Regions from separate parts of the Homo sapiens genome. Here all the other regions are linked to region 1. Evidence: promoter capture Hi-C in human tissues and cell types (Jung and others, 2019). All regions are on one chromosome and are shown on one strand. The core of a region is centred on a gene start or on the middle of the fragment in contact, and the rest is flanking DNA. Distances in the headings are between cores, read along the strand shown. Region 1 holds the start of OPTC (opticin). Region 2 overlaps ZBED6 (zinc finger BED-type containing 6). Region 3 overlaps ZBED6 (zinc finger BED-type containing 6).

What was found. Contacts are between HindIII fragments. The study calls those that stand out against the background at their distance.
Region 2: a fragment that was not itself captured here is called in contact with the fragment with the promoter of OPTC in region 1 in 2 of the 25 tissues and cell types used here (hippocampus and spleen).
Region 3: a fragment that was not itself captured here is called in contact with the fragment with the promoter of OPTC in region 1 in 2 of the 25 tissues and cell types used here (H1 embryonic stem cells and IMR-90 fibroblasts).

Annotation. Positions count from the first base shown.
Region 1 is chr1:203,491,758-203,496,793 of GRCh38, reverse strand. OPTC (opticin) reads right to left here and starts at 2,641. Exons shown (of 8, transcript NM_014359.4): 1 at 2,577-2,641; 2 at 558-829. The coding sequence starts at 788. RefSeq lists a silencer at 2,920-3,148 and an enhancer at 4,536-5,036. The HindIII fragment of the contact is 22,199 bases long and covers 1-5,036 here.
Region 2 is chr1:203,851,262-203,856,297 of GRCh38, reverse strand. It overlaps ZBED6 (zinc finger BED-type containing 6), which reads right to left. Exons shown (of 17, transcript NM_001395895.1): 17 at 2,174-4,157. ZC3H11A (zinc finger CCCH-type containing 11A) reads right to left here. Exons shown (of 18, transcript NM_001376342.1): 18 at 2,174-4,157. The coding sequence ends at 3,899. Among named protein-coding and RNA genes, the nearest start is that of SNRPE, 7.8 kb to the left of the region's middle. The HindIII fragment of the contact is 4,531 bases long and covers 654-5,036 here.
Region 3 is chr1:203,809,552-203,814,587 of GRCh38, reverse strand. All of the region lies in intron 1 of ZBED6 (zinc finger BED-type containing 6), which reads right to left. All of the region lies in intron 2 of ZC3H11A (zinc finger CCCH-type containing 11A), which reads right to left. Among named protein-coding and RNA genes, the nearest start is that of ZC3H11A, 16 kb to the right of the region's middle. The HindIII fragment of the contact is 4,767 bases long and covers 78-4,844 here.

The DNA of each region.
Region 1 (5,036 bases), core at 1,392-3,891:
TCCATCCTATGGATGAAGAAACTGGGGCCCAGAGAGGAGAGGGATGAGGATCAAAGAGCCAGCAGGTGGTCAAGGCAGAGACGAAACCTGCTCTCCCGATTTCCCAGGCCGGCACTCTTCCCCTGCTCCACACCGACCAGGCTCACGCACAATTGAGTAGGGGCTTCTGGGCTTGCACCCCACGCTGCTGCAGTGAAGGCCAAGAGGACCTGGGAAAGAACTTCAGACTGGAGGACAGTTTCAGAAAAGAGATGGGGGATGTGGCACTTTTATTTCCTAGAGAATATGATGAGGACATTGCGAACCCCTCCCCCAGTGAGACATAGCTTTGGCAGGGGGAGGCAAGTATGAGTTTTGAAGAAGGAGAAGTCCCAGGTTTGTGTCCTGTTTCTTAGTATCATCTAAGTGACAAGTCCCTATGGAGGGATAAGAATTTCCACCTCACAGAGAAAGAGGTGGAGGCTGGAGACACCCGCACTTTGGGGCAGATGGGAGGGCCCTGGCCTCTGACTCCCAGTGTCATGCAGGGAATGTAGTTGGTCTGCTGTGTCCCTCACCTCGGGGAGTTGGTCCCCATAATCTGTGAGCTCCTCATAGTTGCTCAGGTCAATGACTTCACCATAGTTGTCTGGGTTCAGGACATCATTCCGCAGAGGCAGAACTTCAAAGGAATCGCCTTCCCTGGGCATCTGCTCCTCTCTCCTCTTCCTCTCCTTCCTTGGGAGAGAAGCTGTCCCTGTCTCCTGCAGCACCAAGGCCAGCAGACTCAGGAAAGCCAGGAGCCTCATGGGGAGTCAGATGGGACTGAGAATCCCTTCAGCGGCTGGTCCTGGCAAGTGGGCACGAGGAAGGGCAGCGATCTGAGGGACAGGCTCTCCAGAGTGTTGTGGGAATGGCTCGCAGATTTACTCCACTTCCCACCCCCACACTTGCAGACTCAGTGCTCTCATCACATGCACAAATTCCCTACCAGCTGGGACTATGTCTTGGGGGGTATCTCCTAGCAGCCCCCTCCCTCCACCGCCCCACTTGAGTGTTTTTACACGCTCACCCAAACACTGATATTCACTCACAGAGGCATGTGCAGACACATCTCAACACAGACACATTCACAAGAGTCCCCTTGTTTACAAACGAGGCACACACTGGTGCATGCACACAGATGTCCTCTCTTAAACAACCCCATGCTCAGAACATGACTGCTAGTCACTAAGCTCGATTTAGAGAATGTCAACATCAAATAATCTTATGGGGTCTTTTTGTTTGTTTGTTTTTTTGAGACGAAGTTTCATTCTTGTTTCCCGGGCTGGAGTGCAGTGGTGCGATCTTGGCTCACTGCAACCTCCGCCTTCTGGGTTCAAGCGAATCTCCTGCCTCAGCCTCCTGAGTAGCTGGGATTACAGGCACCCACCATGCCTGGCTAATTTTTGTATTTTTAGTAGAGAAGGGGTTTCACCATATTGGCCAGGCTGGTGTCGAACTCCTGACCTTAGGTGATCCACCCACCCTGGCTTCCCAAAGTGCTGGAATTACAGGTGTGAGCCACCGCGCCCAGTTGACTCTTGTGGTTTTTTATAAAGATCATCCATTCATGCATTTGCTCAACAAACATTTATGGGTGTCTATTGAGTTCCAGGCACAGGACTTGTCTCTGTGGGTACAGAATGAATGAGGCACAGCCCTTCCTAGGAGCACCTAGTCTCTTTAGGAGACATGGACTTACAATGAAACATACAATGTAAAAAAGAATGTTAGTTTATGAAATATACTTCTAAATGCAGCTTTTTAGAAACAGATTATTACAGATAAAAGAGTTCTTTGTGTGTGATTGCATGAGTGTGTACGCATCTGGAAATTTCCTTAGATACCTGTGTATATTTGTGTGTGTGTGCACACAGATGCCTGCGTATGTATGTGATATGCATGTGAGTACAAATGTTCATGTAGTTCGTATATGTATAGACGGGTCAGGAAATGCATGTGGTGTGGTTTTGTATCCAGGCATAAGTGTATACAACAGTCATACCCAGTGTAGGCTTAACACAGCCCTCCCCAAAGCTAGCTGCACAAGTTTCTAGTAGACTCTCCCTCTTTCTTTCTTTTAAAATTTTTTTTATCTTTTAATTTTTATTTTATTTTCTATTTTTAAGACGGTGTCACTCTGTTGCCCAGCCTGGAGTGTTATGGCATGATCTCAGCTCACTGAAGCCTTAACCTCCTGGGCTCAGGCAGTCCTCCTGCCTCAGCCTCCCAAGTAGCTGGGACTACAGGCGTGTGTTACCATGCCCAGTTAACCTCCCCACCCTTTCTTAATTTTAGCTGGGCAAGGGGGCAAGCCTCTAGCAGTAGCAAGAGGTGTTTCTTCACCTTACCTCCCATACCTCACCCCAAACGAATTACATAATCTCAAAAAAAATTTTTCTAAGAGAGTTTAGTGCCCACCCAAAAGTCTTGTCCAACTTCTTTGGCCAGAGGCCTAAACTCTCTTCATTTTCCCTTCCCAATCCCCTGCCCCAGCCAAACACTTTGCCCTCATTTGCGCACCGATGGCCAGAGGCCTCAACCTTGAGCCTTACCCCTTCAATGCTTCTGGATCCTGGATGGAGAGCCCTGCAGCTTCCAGAAAGGTGGGGACTCTGGTGGAGGCTGTCTGAACTGGGGCTTGGGTTAGACAGTGGTGCCCGGGGGAGGGCAAGGAGTTGGCCAGGCCTGCGACCAATCAGACTTCTCATTCCTTCTGATGTCCAGCTGTTTCCCCTCCTCTTTCCTCAGGGGGTCCCCTGCCCCATTCCTGTATTTGACAAAAGAGAATTCTCCCCCCACCTTCCGCTTCACCCCCCACCTCCAGCTCCTGCTCTCTCTCCTCTTACTCTGTCAGCTCCTTCTTTCTTTTCCTTGTCCACTCTCCTGATAAGGCCACATCTTTGAGGAACAGGGAGTGCCATCCCCTGCAAGGAAGGGGCCCCATCCCTCAGATTCTGAGTCCTCAGAGAAGGCTGGAGTCGGGGGATATGGAGAGATAGAGCTTGTCTTTGCAGCTTCTTTCTCCAGCCAGAGAGTGACAAGGCTTCAGCTTCATAGCCAGAATCCAAAGATAAAAATAGGTGGAAATGAGGCACTTCACCCTCACCTAGAGCGCCAGCACAGAGACCATAATTGAATAAAATCACCAGAGACAGGAGCTGCAGGCCTAGGTAGTTCAAAGAGAAGGTGTATGGGGGATGAGATCGGATTTGAAAGCCAACTTCAAGTTCACAGATGATGATCATGAGGATACGGGAAATTCTCTAAATCTGCTAGGAGGAAACCAAATGGAAATTGGGAGGTGGGCCCTAGAAAGGATCATAAACACCAGTAGACATTGTGTAGGGTCTCGGGGGCCTGGGAAGTATCCTCTCCCGCACCCTCAGAGATGTACAGTCGTCCCTCAGTAACCATGGGGGATTGGTTCTGCACGTCCAGTGGATACCAAATCCACATATGCTGAGGTCTTTTATATAAAATGGTGAATTTGCACATAACCTACGCACATCCTCCTGTGTACTTCAAATCATCTCTAGATTACCTATAACACCAAACACAATGCTTACACCTCACTCCATTCACATGGATTCCACATAGTACTGGCACACAGCAAATTCAAGTTTTCCTTTTTGGAACGTTGTGAATTTTTTTTTTTTCTGAATATTTTCAATCTGTGGTTGGTTGAATCCACGGATGTGGAACCCACAGATACAGAGGGCCAACGGCATTCATCTGGAAACACTCCCCTTTCCTTGGTGCCTCGAGCAGGCTGCCGAGCAAGTCCTTGCTGAAGGCAGAGGTGGGGTGGCTAAGGAGTCTTCCCCAGCTTCTGCCAGCCTGTGCCCTGGCGCCCACCCAGGTTTCTCAGTGACTCTCCTTGTTCCCTACTCCTTTCCACCAACCAGATACTGAATTCCAGCTGTGAGGCCCCCTAAAGATCTAGTCCAAGTCCTTGTGGTATAGATGAGGAGAGTGAGGCCCAAAGAGGTGACGTGACTTGCCCTAGGTCACACAGAGCCAGGGCCAATGCCTAGATTTTTTGACTCCCTGGTCAGAGAGTTTTCTTTAGTTCATATGACCCTCCCCATTTCCACCTTCTTCCCCAGGAGTCCTGAATCCGTGTGTTTCCAGGCCCTCAGAGCAGATGGCTTGGCAGAACTCATCTCTGCCCTGGCACACCAGGTGAAGAGGCAGATCTAATAGCCTGGCCCTCGAGGGCAGCATTTGGCTTGCTGTGTTCCTGGGCTCCAGCTGGTGCAAGAGGGGGCTTCCCTCAGCCCAAGAGCCTGGTCACCAGAGAAGAGCATGTTCTTGTACCCCTGGCAGCCCCCCACCTGGGAAAAGACACCATCAGAGGCTCTGCTGGGTGGAGGGAAAGATAGCCCTGGATCCTGGAGGGCATCCAGTAGGCAGATGGCACATTTGGCGGGCTGTATGCCTCCATCTTCTCTCCACAGCCTGGGCTTTGCAGCCAGAGGCCCTCCACCCCCACAGCCAGCCTAGGCAATCTCCCCGCTCCCACCCCACACATTTATTCCTGGGAGAAATGCAAATGCGAGTGTTCATTCACTCTCCCTGCCGCCTGCTCCCACTCTCCCTCCCTGCTTTCCCAGAGACATACGCTCCTGCCATCCCTGCTTGGTTGCCACACCCCCACCATCGTTCCTCCCCAATGCATACACACCTGCTCCCCCCACTCCCTGCAGGAGCCACATCCAGACTCAGGCTCGCATCCTAGACCCTCTCCCAACTTCTCCTCTTGCTTTCCCAAGCTCACAGGTCACACACTCTTGTTCTCATGAATATTAGGGGCTGTCCATGGATGTGTACATGTGACCTGGTGGGGGAAACGGCTAACCCCGCAGACTGCTGTTCCAGGCAGCCCAGCTCCCCAAGAGCCTGGCAAAGGAAGCAGGAGGCGGGGGAGGCGTCCTAATCCTAATCTCTCATTAGGAGAGGCAAAAGGCGTGTTGATGAATCGGAGGCGGCAGGTGGTATGGACAGAAGTTTGA
Region 2 (5,036 bases), core at 1,670-4,169, 360 kb before region 1:
CTGTGATTATTCTTTACCATGCCATAGATTCAGACTCTACAACATTTTAGCAGTTAAATCCAACCAAATCTAAATACCTTAGTAACAGACCCTCTCAGTAAATATAAATCCAAAAAAAATTTTTTTGAGATGGAGTCTTGCCCTGTTGCTCAGGCTGGAGTGCAGTGGTGATTGATCTCGGCTCACTGTAACCTCCGCCTTCCAGGTTCACACAATTCTCCTGCCTCAGCCTCCCAAGTAGCTGGGATTATAGGTGCATGCCACCCCGCCTGGCTAATTTTTTTGTACTTTCAGTAAAGATGGGGTTTTGCCATGTTGGCCAGGCTGGTCTCAAACTTCTGACCTCAGATGATCCACCCACCTCGGCCTCCCAAAGTGCTGGGATTACAGGCGTGAGCCACCGTGCCCAGCCAAAATTACTTTTTTTAAATGTAAAACTAAATTCTTGATTGCTGTTCTTATTTACGGTCATTACTTATTTTTTGCCCACTTTATTGAACAAACTTAAGAGAATGGTCAAGGATTTTAATTGTGTTCATGCCCCTTAACTAATATCTTTTTGCAAATTCAAAATAAATTGCGGTTTGGAGTCTTAATTATTAATGCAGTTAAATGTCTGGGTTGTAGGAATTTTCAGAGTTACTGAGCAGCTTCATAAAGTCATGATTTTAAAAAACACTCTTGAAAAGATCTACTAATCAAACCCAATGGCACATAATATATAAACATACTGACCCTGAAACTTCAGTGCGGGAATAGTCATCTTTAATGTACTGTATAATTTAGTGTCAAAATGAGGACGTGAATTAAAGATACACAATAAGTACTCAATAAATGTTAGCTAATTTAAGTTTTACCTATTAAGCAGTTACAACTGGAGACCATGTATTTCCTGTGCTACAGCCAAATTCAAAGCAATCAAATACTTTACAGAACTGCAGAACTGTTGGCTGGGCGTGGTGGCTCACAACCTGTAATCCCAGCACTTTGGAAGGCCGAGGAAGGCCTATCACTTGAGGTCAGGGGTTCCAGACCAGCCTGGCCAACATGGTGAAATCCTGTCTCTACTAAAAATATAAAAATTAGCCAGGTGTGGTGGTGCACCCCTGTAATCCCAACTACTGAGGAGGCTGAGGCAGGAGAATCGCTTGAAACTGGGAGGCAAGAGTTGCAGTGAGCCAAGATTGTGCCACTCTGCATTCTATCCTGGGCAACAGAGTGAGACTCTGTCTTAAAAAAAACACCCTGCAGAATTATTCTGGCAAAATAAAGCCACCATTTTAGAAAAGGATCATGGAACTCTGATCAATATATTAATAGATCAAGCTTTGTTACTGCAATTGTAATTAGTAAACATCAGTCTCATCTTTCAAATACTGATCAAGATGAAAACACACTATGTTCTAGCTTTAAAGAAGAACCACTGAGATTTAGGGTTAAGGCTAGAACTTTAGGAATTATTATCTTGAGATAAAATATATGAAACATAAAACTATCTTATTTCTGGCTATAACCAAACTGGAATATTTGGGCCCTTTTCTTACTGTTAAAATGAAAAACTATCATTCAAAACTATAGTCTTTTGCTTTTTGTGAAAAGTTGATTCAACTTGTTGGGACGACTTTTAGACTAATAGGAAAAATCTATGTTCTTTGGTAGCTAACAAACATATACTTTCCTACAATTTTAAAAATTGGCACACATATTAAGAAACCTGGACTTCTATAAATTAAATTTCTTATCTGCTGCACCTTCATGCTTGAAAATTCTAAATCGTTGACTCTAAAGATCAAGTTTATTCATTTATTTATTTTTTATCAGCCTCTTGAGCCAGAGTAGGCCCAGAGAGACTCCCTAAGATCACTTTTAAACCCTCCCTCCTTTTAAAAACTTAATGGCATTGCTTGAGTTACAACACTAAGGAGTAAGTATCCGTGTCAGAAAAAAAATCCTCACATTATAATAATATAAATTCTTACCTAAAGCATATGCAGCTAAAATTGAGCACACTTGTAAATTTGGCAATATATCCAGATGAAAGGTTTCTAAGCCAAATAATAACTGAAATTCGGGCACTTACACGAAAGGCCAATAGCATTCTGTCTGGGGTCTCTTGTCAAGATGGATCCCAGGCTGATATGATGATGTAAGATTACTTAGCTCACAACATCAAGACTTTCCTACATCAGTTTTATTTAAAACACAAACAAGTATTTCTCTTTCTGTAAGGGCAAATGGTTCAAATAATGCGGAACACGAAACATTGACTAATACAAGTGCTTTAAATATGAAACAAAATTATTTTTTAAAAAAGCAAAAGAATAAAGAATATATACAAAAGGGACCTGGAATCTGTAAGCTGATTCCAAAAACGAAATAAGTAGAAAATCCATGGTGAAACCTGAACATTCTACCTCTGCTTTGGAGAAGGGCTATCATACAACATTCAGTCAGCTGAAGATGGATTGGTAGAGGTGTGTCTATACATAAACTTCAGTCATTTTTGCTTGTGCAGAATCATCCCAATCTTCCCAAGACTGAATGGGCAGTCCTGTGGCTTTCTTCCTTTTCCATATTCCCAACAAGGCTACGTGAAGTTCAACTCTTGATGAGCCGCTTACAACAGCAGTTCCTTAGGAGCCAACATGACAGGTGGGTCAGATTTCCCTATGAGAAACAAAACTGGCCACCTACAGCAAAATATCAAAATGGGTAAGTCCTTCCTTCCTCTTCCTCCTGATTATATACAACATATCTCCTTTCAAGACTATTATTTCCATCATGCTTATTCCTTCACAAATCTAAACCTTGAGGTGATATGAAGGAAACCAACATCAAGAAAAGAAAACTCAATTCAGAAATGAAGAAAACTGGCAGGTATACAATACACCCCCAGAGCATCTCAATATCCCTGGCACAGTACAATTCAGTGTACTGCTACAGCCCATAGATAAATATTGGCAGCTTGAATAAGCTCATTTTTTCCCTCAGGTGGTTAAAGGCCACCAAACAAATACTGGGCAACAGGGGTTTGTTGGGAGAGTTAGAAATAAAAAATTAACCAAATTTTGTCCCTGTGTTAATTCAATGCCAGCAAGGAGGCAAGTACTGAAGAAGAAAAAGGACAATTTTCATACTAAAAAAGAATTCCTCTAATCATGTCACCATCTCATATAATGAATCCAGGGAATCCCAGAAATAGAAAATTAGTTTCAGGGGACCCCTGAGGCACTTTAAAGCCTTTTAAAAAATTACAGTAATAATAAATTAGATATTGCTCTTCAGAGGCTAACAGAGCAGCAGAAGCATCAAGATCAGGTCCAAAGAGTTATGCCCACATTACAGGCTTCCTGAGCTGCTCAGCCCTCTTTAAAGCTTAGTTGAATCTTTAAATACCTTTAAAAAGACATACAATTTAACACAGACTGAGTGGGTATTTTTGTTTAGTGGTAGCATAAAATTTGGTCCTTAATGGTAGCAGCTGTCTTCATCCATTTCAAACTCAGGTAATATTAAGTACATCAAGACAATACATAAAGAATACAACAAAGAAGAAAAAAGCCAAAACTGACAAACACCTCAAGGAGTCACTAAGTTCGCTTGCACCCTTTCACTTGATCTCCCTCTCAGTCTCTTTTTTGTGGAGAGAAGGGTATGACAGAACTTTTTTCTCAAAAGATGATAAACAATGGCATCAAATGGACAAAATGGTTATAAAGTAACTTTAAAAATCTGACCCCAAGGAATCCAGGACACATACAGATAATTCAGAGGTATACTTCTGATTTGGGGCAAATTCTAGACTAAAGAAATGATCATCTCAGGTAAATGTTACAATAGATGAAACTAAGTCCAGTTTTTTGGCGATTTTTTTTTTAAAGTGTCCTCACTACCACCTTCAGCTATCAATCATTTCTGATAGCTCAAGCAGAAGGTCATCTTCATCTTTCCCAGGATCCAGGTCAATCTCAGCTTCCAATTTGCCTCCTGAAATCTCCCATATTAGTTTCTCAAAATCATCCTCCACAGAGAGTGGGGGCTTTCCTGTTGAGGCAGAGCTGAGTCGGCGAGTTTTCATGCTCATTTGGGATGAGGAAGGGCCAGACACCTCCGGGGGTGAGGAATCTGAAGAGGACTGGGTTGGAGGCAGCACAAGACTGTAAGAAAAAAAAGATTATTAGAAAACTGCCGTTTTAAAAATAGTTGGCTGAATCACCTAGTCTCACGGACACAAAGTGAGCAAAAATTTGTTTTTAAGAACATACATAAAGAAATAATTCTTTTACTGATTTGGGATCAAGCTTTTTTTTTTTTTTTTTTTTTTTTTTTGAGGCAGAGTCTCCCTTTGTCACCCAGGCTGGAGTGTAGTGGTACAATCATGGCTCACTGCAGCCTCGACCTCCTGGGCTCAAGCGATCATTTTGCCTCCGCCTCCCAAGTAGCTGGGTCTACAGGTGTGTGTCACCATGTGATTTTTTTTTTATTTCTTTGATTTTTATTAGAGACAAGACCTCACTATGTTGTCCAGGCTGGTCTTGAACTCCTGAGCTCAAGTGATTCTCCAGCCCCAGTCTCCCAAAATGTTGGGATTACAGGCATAAGCCGCCTTGCCTGGCCAGCACCAAGCATTTTTATAACTCAAAGTAGGTGTTAAAGACATCTTTCAGGGGCCGGGCATGGTAGCTCATGCCTGTAATCCCAGCACTTTGGGAAGACGAGGAAGGTGGATCACTTGACGTCAGGAGTTTGAGACCACCCTGGACAATGTGGCAAAACCCTGTCACTACTAAAAATACAAAAATTAGCTAGGCCTTGTGGCAGGCACCTGTAATCCCAGCTACTTGGGAAGCTGAGGCAGGAGAATTGCTTGAACCCGGGAAGTGGAGGTTGCAGTGAGCAGAGATTGTGCCACTGCACTCCAGTCTGGGTGACACAGTGAGACGCTGCCTCAAACAAAAAAACAAAAAAACATCTTTTAGGTAATATAGCAAAATGTAAACAATGGCACCAAAGAAGAACAGCAACCCTAGATTTTC
Region 3 (5,036 bases), core at 1,212-3,711, 320 kb before region 1:
TCAGTCAGAAATTAGGATCGTGTTATTGGAAACTGGAGGAAAGGTTATTCTTTTTTTTTTCTTTGAGATGGAGTCTTGCTCTGTCACCCAGGCTGGAATGCAATGGTGCCATCTTGGCTCACTGCAACCTCTGCCTCCCAGGTTCAAGCAATTCTCCCGCCTCAGTCTCCCAAGTAGCTGGAATTACAGGCTTGCACCACCACATATGGCTAATTTTTGTATTTTTAGTAGAGACAGGGTTTCGCCATGTTGGCCAGGCTGGTCTTGAACTTCTGACCTCAGATGATCCTCCCACCTCAGCCTCCCAAAGTGCTGGGATTACAGGTGTGAGCCAGCGCCTGGCCGGAAAGGTTATTCCTGTTAAAAAGTGGCAGAGAACTTAGAATTGGGTTGTGTTGGGCAGAAGGCAGAACCTGGAAGCAATGAACTTGGGTTTTAGCTGAGGAGATTTCTAAGCAAAGTGTGGAAGGAACAGCCTGGGCTTTTCCTGCTGCTTACAGTGAAATGCAAGGAGAGAGACATATTGAGGCAAGAACTATGAAGCAAAAAGGAATAAAGAATCTGAACTTGAAAATTTAGAAAATTCTCACTCTATCCATATTGCAAAAAAAAAAAACAAGAATGTATGCTCTGTAGAGAAAAGGGTATGGGTGGGCAACAGTTTGTTGGAGATTAGGTGTGTGACTAGATTCAGGCAACCATCTTAGCAAAAAATGTTGCCAGCTTAAAATGAAAGAGACAGACATGTACAGAGGGAATGTGATGAGAAGACACACAAGGAGAAGATGACCATGTGGCTGGAGTGATGCATCTACAAACCAAGGAATGCCAAGGATTGCCAACAAACACCAGAAGCCAGAATGGGTAAGGATCATTCCTCTACAGGCTTCAGAGGGAGAATGGCCCTGCTGAAAACATTTTAGACATCTCACCTTCAGAATTGTGAGACAACAAACTTCTGTAGCTACCCAGTTTGTGATACTTTGTTATGGAAGTCCTAGGAACTAATACAGATAACAAGCATAGTCAAATGACCTTTGACAAAGGGGAAAAGGATAGTCTTTTCAACATATGTTACTGGAACAAATGGATATCCACATATAAAAAAATAATTTTAGACACAGACTTTATACTTTTCACAAAAAATAACATGGATAACAACTTAAATACAAAAGAAAACCAATAAATTGGTTTTCAATAAAAACCATTAAAATTTAGCCAGGCATGGTGGTGAATGCCTGTGATCCCAGCTACTGAGGAGGCTGAGGCAAGAGAATTGCTTGAACCTGGGAGGCGGAGGTTGCAGTGAGCTGAGATCACACCACTGCACTCCAGCCTAGGCAACAAGAGCAAAACTCCATCCAAAAAAAAACAAAAAACAAAAAACAAAAAAACATTAAATTGGAGTTCATTAAAATTAAAAAGGTCTGCTCTGTGAAAGCTCTGTTAAGAAGCTTAAGAAAGAATGAAAAAGCCACAGGCTGGGAGAAAATATTTGCAAAACATAACTGATAAGGTCTGATATACAAAATATATAACTCTTGAAACTCAAAAATAAGAAAACAACTCCCCAATTCAAAAAGGCAAAAGATCTGAACAGGTACCTCACCAAAGAAGGTATACAGATGGAAAATAAGCATTTGAAATCTTGCCCAACATCATGCATCATTAGGGATTGCAAATTCCTTTTCTAATGGCTAAAATCCATTTGGGCACAGTGGCTCACACTTGTAATCCCAGCACTTTGGGAGGCCGAGGCAGGTGGGTCATCTGAGGTCAGGAGTTCAAGACGAGCTTGGCAAACATGGTGAGACCCCATCTCTACTAAAAATACAAAAATTAGCTGGCCGTGGTAGCACACACCTGTAATCCCAGCTACTCAGGAGGCAAAAACAGGAGAATCGTTTGAACCTAGGAGGCAGAGGCTGCAGTGAGCCGAGATCATGCCACTATACTCCAGCCTGGGCAACAGAGTGAGACTCCGTCTCAAAAAAAAAAAAAAAAAAAAATTTAGAATGGCTAAAATCCAAAATACTGAAAGCACTAAATGCTGGTGAGGATGGGAAGCAACAAGACAGAAGTCTGAAAAAAACACAAAACATGGAATAGTATGCATCCAATAAAAAGGAACAAAATCATGTCCTTTGCAGGGACATGAATGGAGCCAGAGGCTATTATCCTTAGCAAACTAATGCAGAAACAGGAAACCAAATACAGCATGTTCTCACTTATAAGTGGGAGCTAAATGCTGAGAACACTTGGACACATAGAGGGGAACAACAAACACTGGAGCCTATCAGAAGGTAGAAGGTGGGAGGAGGGAGAGGATCAGGAAAAACAACTAATAGATACTAGGCTTAATACCTGGGTGATGAAATAATCTGTACAACAAACCCCCACGACACACATTTACCTGTGTAACAAACCTGCACATCCTGCACATGTACCCCTGAATTTAAAATGAAAGTTAAGGCCCAGTGTGGTGACTCATACATGTAATCCCAGCACTTTGGGAGGCCGAGGTGGGTGGATCACTTGAGGTCAGTAGTTCAAGACCAGCCTGGCCAACATGGTGAAACCTCGTCTCTATCAAAAAATATAAAAATTAGCCAAGCATGGTGGCACACATCTATAGTCCCAGCTACTCAGGAGGCTGAGGTGTGAGAATCACTTGAACACAGGAGGTGGAGGTTGCAGTGAACCAAGATCACACTACTGCACTCCAGCCTGGGTGACAGTGAGACCTGTCTAAAAAAAAAAAAAAAGAAAAAGACAAAGCTATCTGAATACTTTTCAGACATATATGCAACAAAGGAAAAAGTTTAATAATAAAAAAAGTCATTTGAGGTCAAGAGTTCAAGACCAGCCTGGCCAACATGGCAAAATCCCATCTCTACTGAAAATACAAAAAATTAGCCAGGCGTGGTAGCCCACAACTGTAGTCTCAGCTACTCGGGAGGCTAATGTACAAGAATCGCTTGAATCCAGGGGGCAGAGGTTGCAGTGAGCCACAATCTTGCCACTGCACTCCAGACTAGGCAACAGAGCAAGATTCTGCCTCCAGAAAAAAAAAGTTTTTAAGGGGAATAAAAGGCTTAGAGGTCAATCTCACTCACAAAATCAATATTCCAAAGAACATATTTGAAACTGTTACCGGTTTTAGAAAGACCAGCAACAAAGTAATTGAAACAATGAAATGGTAGCTATGAAATGCAAAGACACAGCAGAATTTACAATTTTTTGGCAACTAATTTTATTTATTTATTTATCTGGAGACGGAGTTTCGAGTTTTGCTCTTGTTGCCCAGGCTGAAGTGCAATGGCACGACCTCAGCTGACTGCAACCTCCACCTCCTGGGTTCAAGTGAGTCGCCTGCCTCAGCCTCCCAAGTAGCTGGAATTACAGGTGCCCACCACCACACTTGGCTTTTTTTTTTTTTTTTTTGTGACAGAGTTTCACTCTTCTACCCAGGCTGCTGGAGTGCAGTGGCGCAATCTCGGCTCATTGCAACCTCCACCTTCTGGTTTCAAGCGATTCTCTTGCCTCAGCCTCCCAAGTAACTGGGATTACAGGCGCCTACCACCATACCCTGCTAATTTTTTTTTTTTTTTGTATTTTTAGTAGAGATGGAGTTTCACCATAGTGGCCAGGCTGGTGTGAAACTCCTGACCTCAGGTCATCTGCCCGCCTCAACCTCTCAAAGTGCTGGGATTACAGGCGTGAGCGTCTGGCCCACAACTAATTTTCAAATCATTTTCTGCAAAGAGCCCTCAAAGTTGGGCAGAGTGTGGAGAAATGGAATCCTGAGTAGATAACACTCCCTTACTAATGTTTCAACAGAAAAAACTCCTTCGTCAGATCTAAGAGCTGGCCGGGCGCGGTGGCTCACGCCTGTATTCCCAGCATTTTGGGAGTCCGAGGCGGGTGGATCACGAGGTCAGGAGATCGAGACCATCCTGGCTGACACTGTGAAACCCCATCTCTACTAAAAATACAAAAAATTAGCTGGGCGTGGTGGTGGGCGCCTGTGGTCCCAGCTACTCTGGAGGCTGAGGCAGGAGAATGGTGTGAACCCCAGAGGTGCAGGTTGCAGTGAGCTGAGATCGCGCCACTGCACTCTAGCCTGGGCGACAGAGTGAGACTCTGTCTCAAAAAAAAAAAAAACCTAACAGCTACAATGTAAAACAAGAAAAAGGAAATAAGAGATAAAGAAAAAAAGAAAAGTTTCTTTATATATCATCTTTATACACTAAGCTTCTGTAACTTTCACTAGGATAAAAACAAATATAATTGCCATTCAAGAAAACGGCAAGGCCAGGTGCAGTGGCTCATGCCTATAATCCTAACACTTTGAGAGACCAAGGCAAGAGGATCACTTGAGACCAGGAGTTCAAGAACAGCCTGGGCAACAGACAGACCTCATCTCTTAAAAAAAAAACAAAAAACAAAAACAAAAAAAACACCACTCCAGCTTTTAAATGATGCTCCAATGACTTTATAATCAATACTATCCCATGCAAAAACACAAAACAAAGATGCACATCCATAAATTTCTTAAGTTTAAAAGGAAAAAAAAAGTATCTAGGTTGCCAAGAAAAACCCAGTTACTTTTTTTTGTTTAGTTTTGTTATTTTTGAGAGAGTCTCGCTCTGTTGCCCAAACCTGGAGTGCAGTTGCGTGATCTTGACTTACTGCAACCTCCACCTCCTGGGTTCAAGCAATTCTCCTGCCTCACCCTCCCGAGTAGCTGGAATTACAGGCGCCTGCCACCATGCCTGGCTAATTTTTGTATTTTTAGTAGAGACGGGGTTTCACCATGTTGGCCAGATTGGTCTCGAACTCCTGACCTCAAGTGATCTGCCCATCTCAGCCTCACAAAGTGCTAGGATTACAGCCGTGAGCCACCGCACCCGGTTAACCTGGTTACTTTTCAACAGAAAATAACCGTTTGAAAATATGAAGCCAAGAAAAATAATGGGACCTTTCTCAACCCACTCTCTAGAAGTTAATGTAGGAAAAAGGACATATTATTTTAA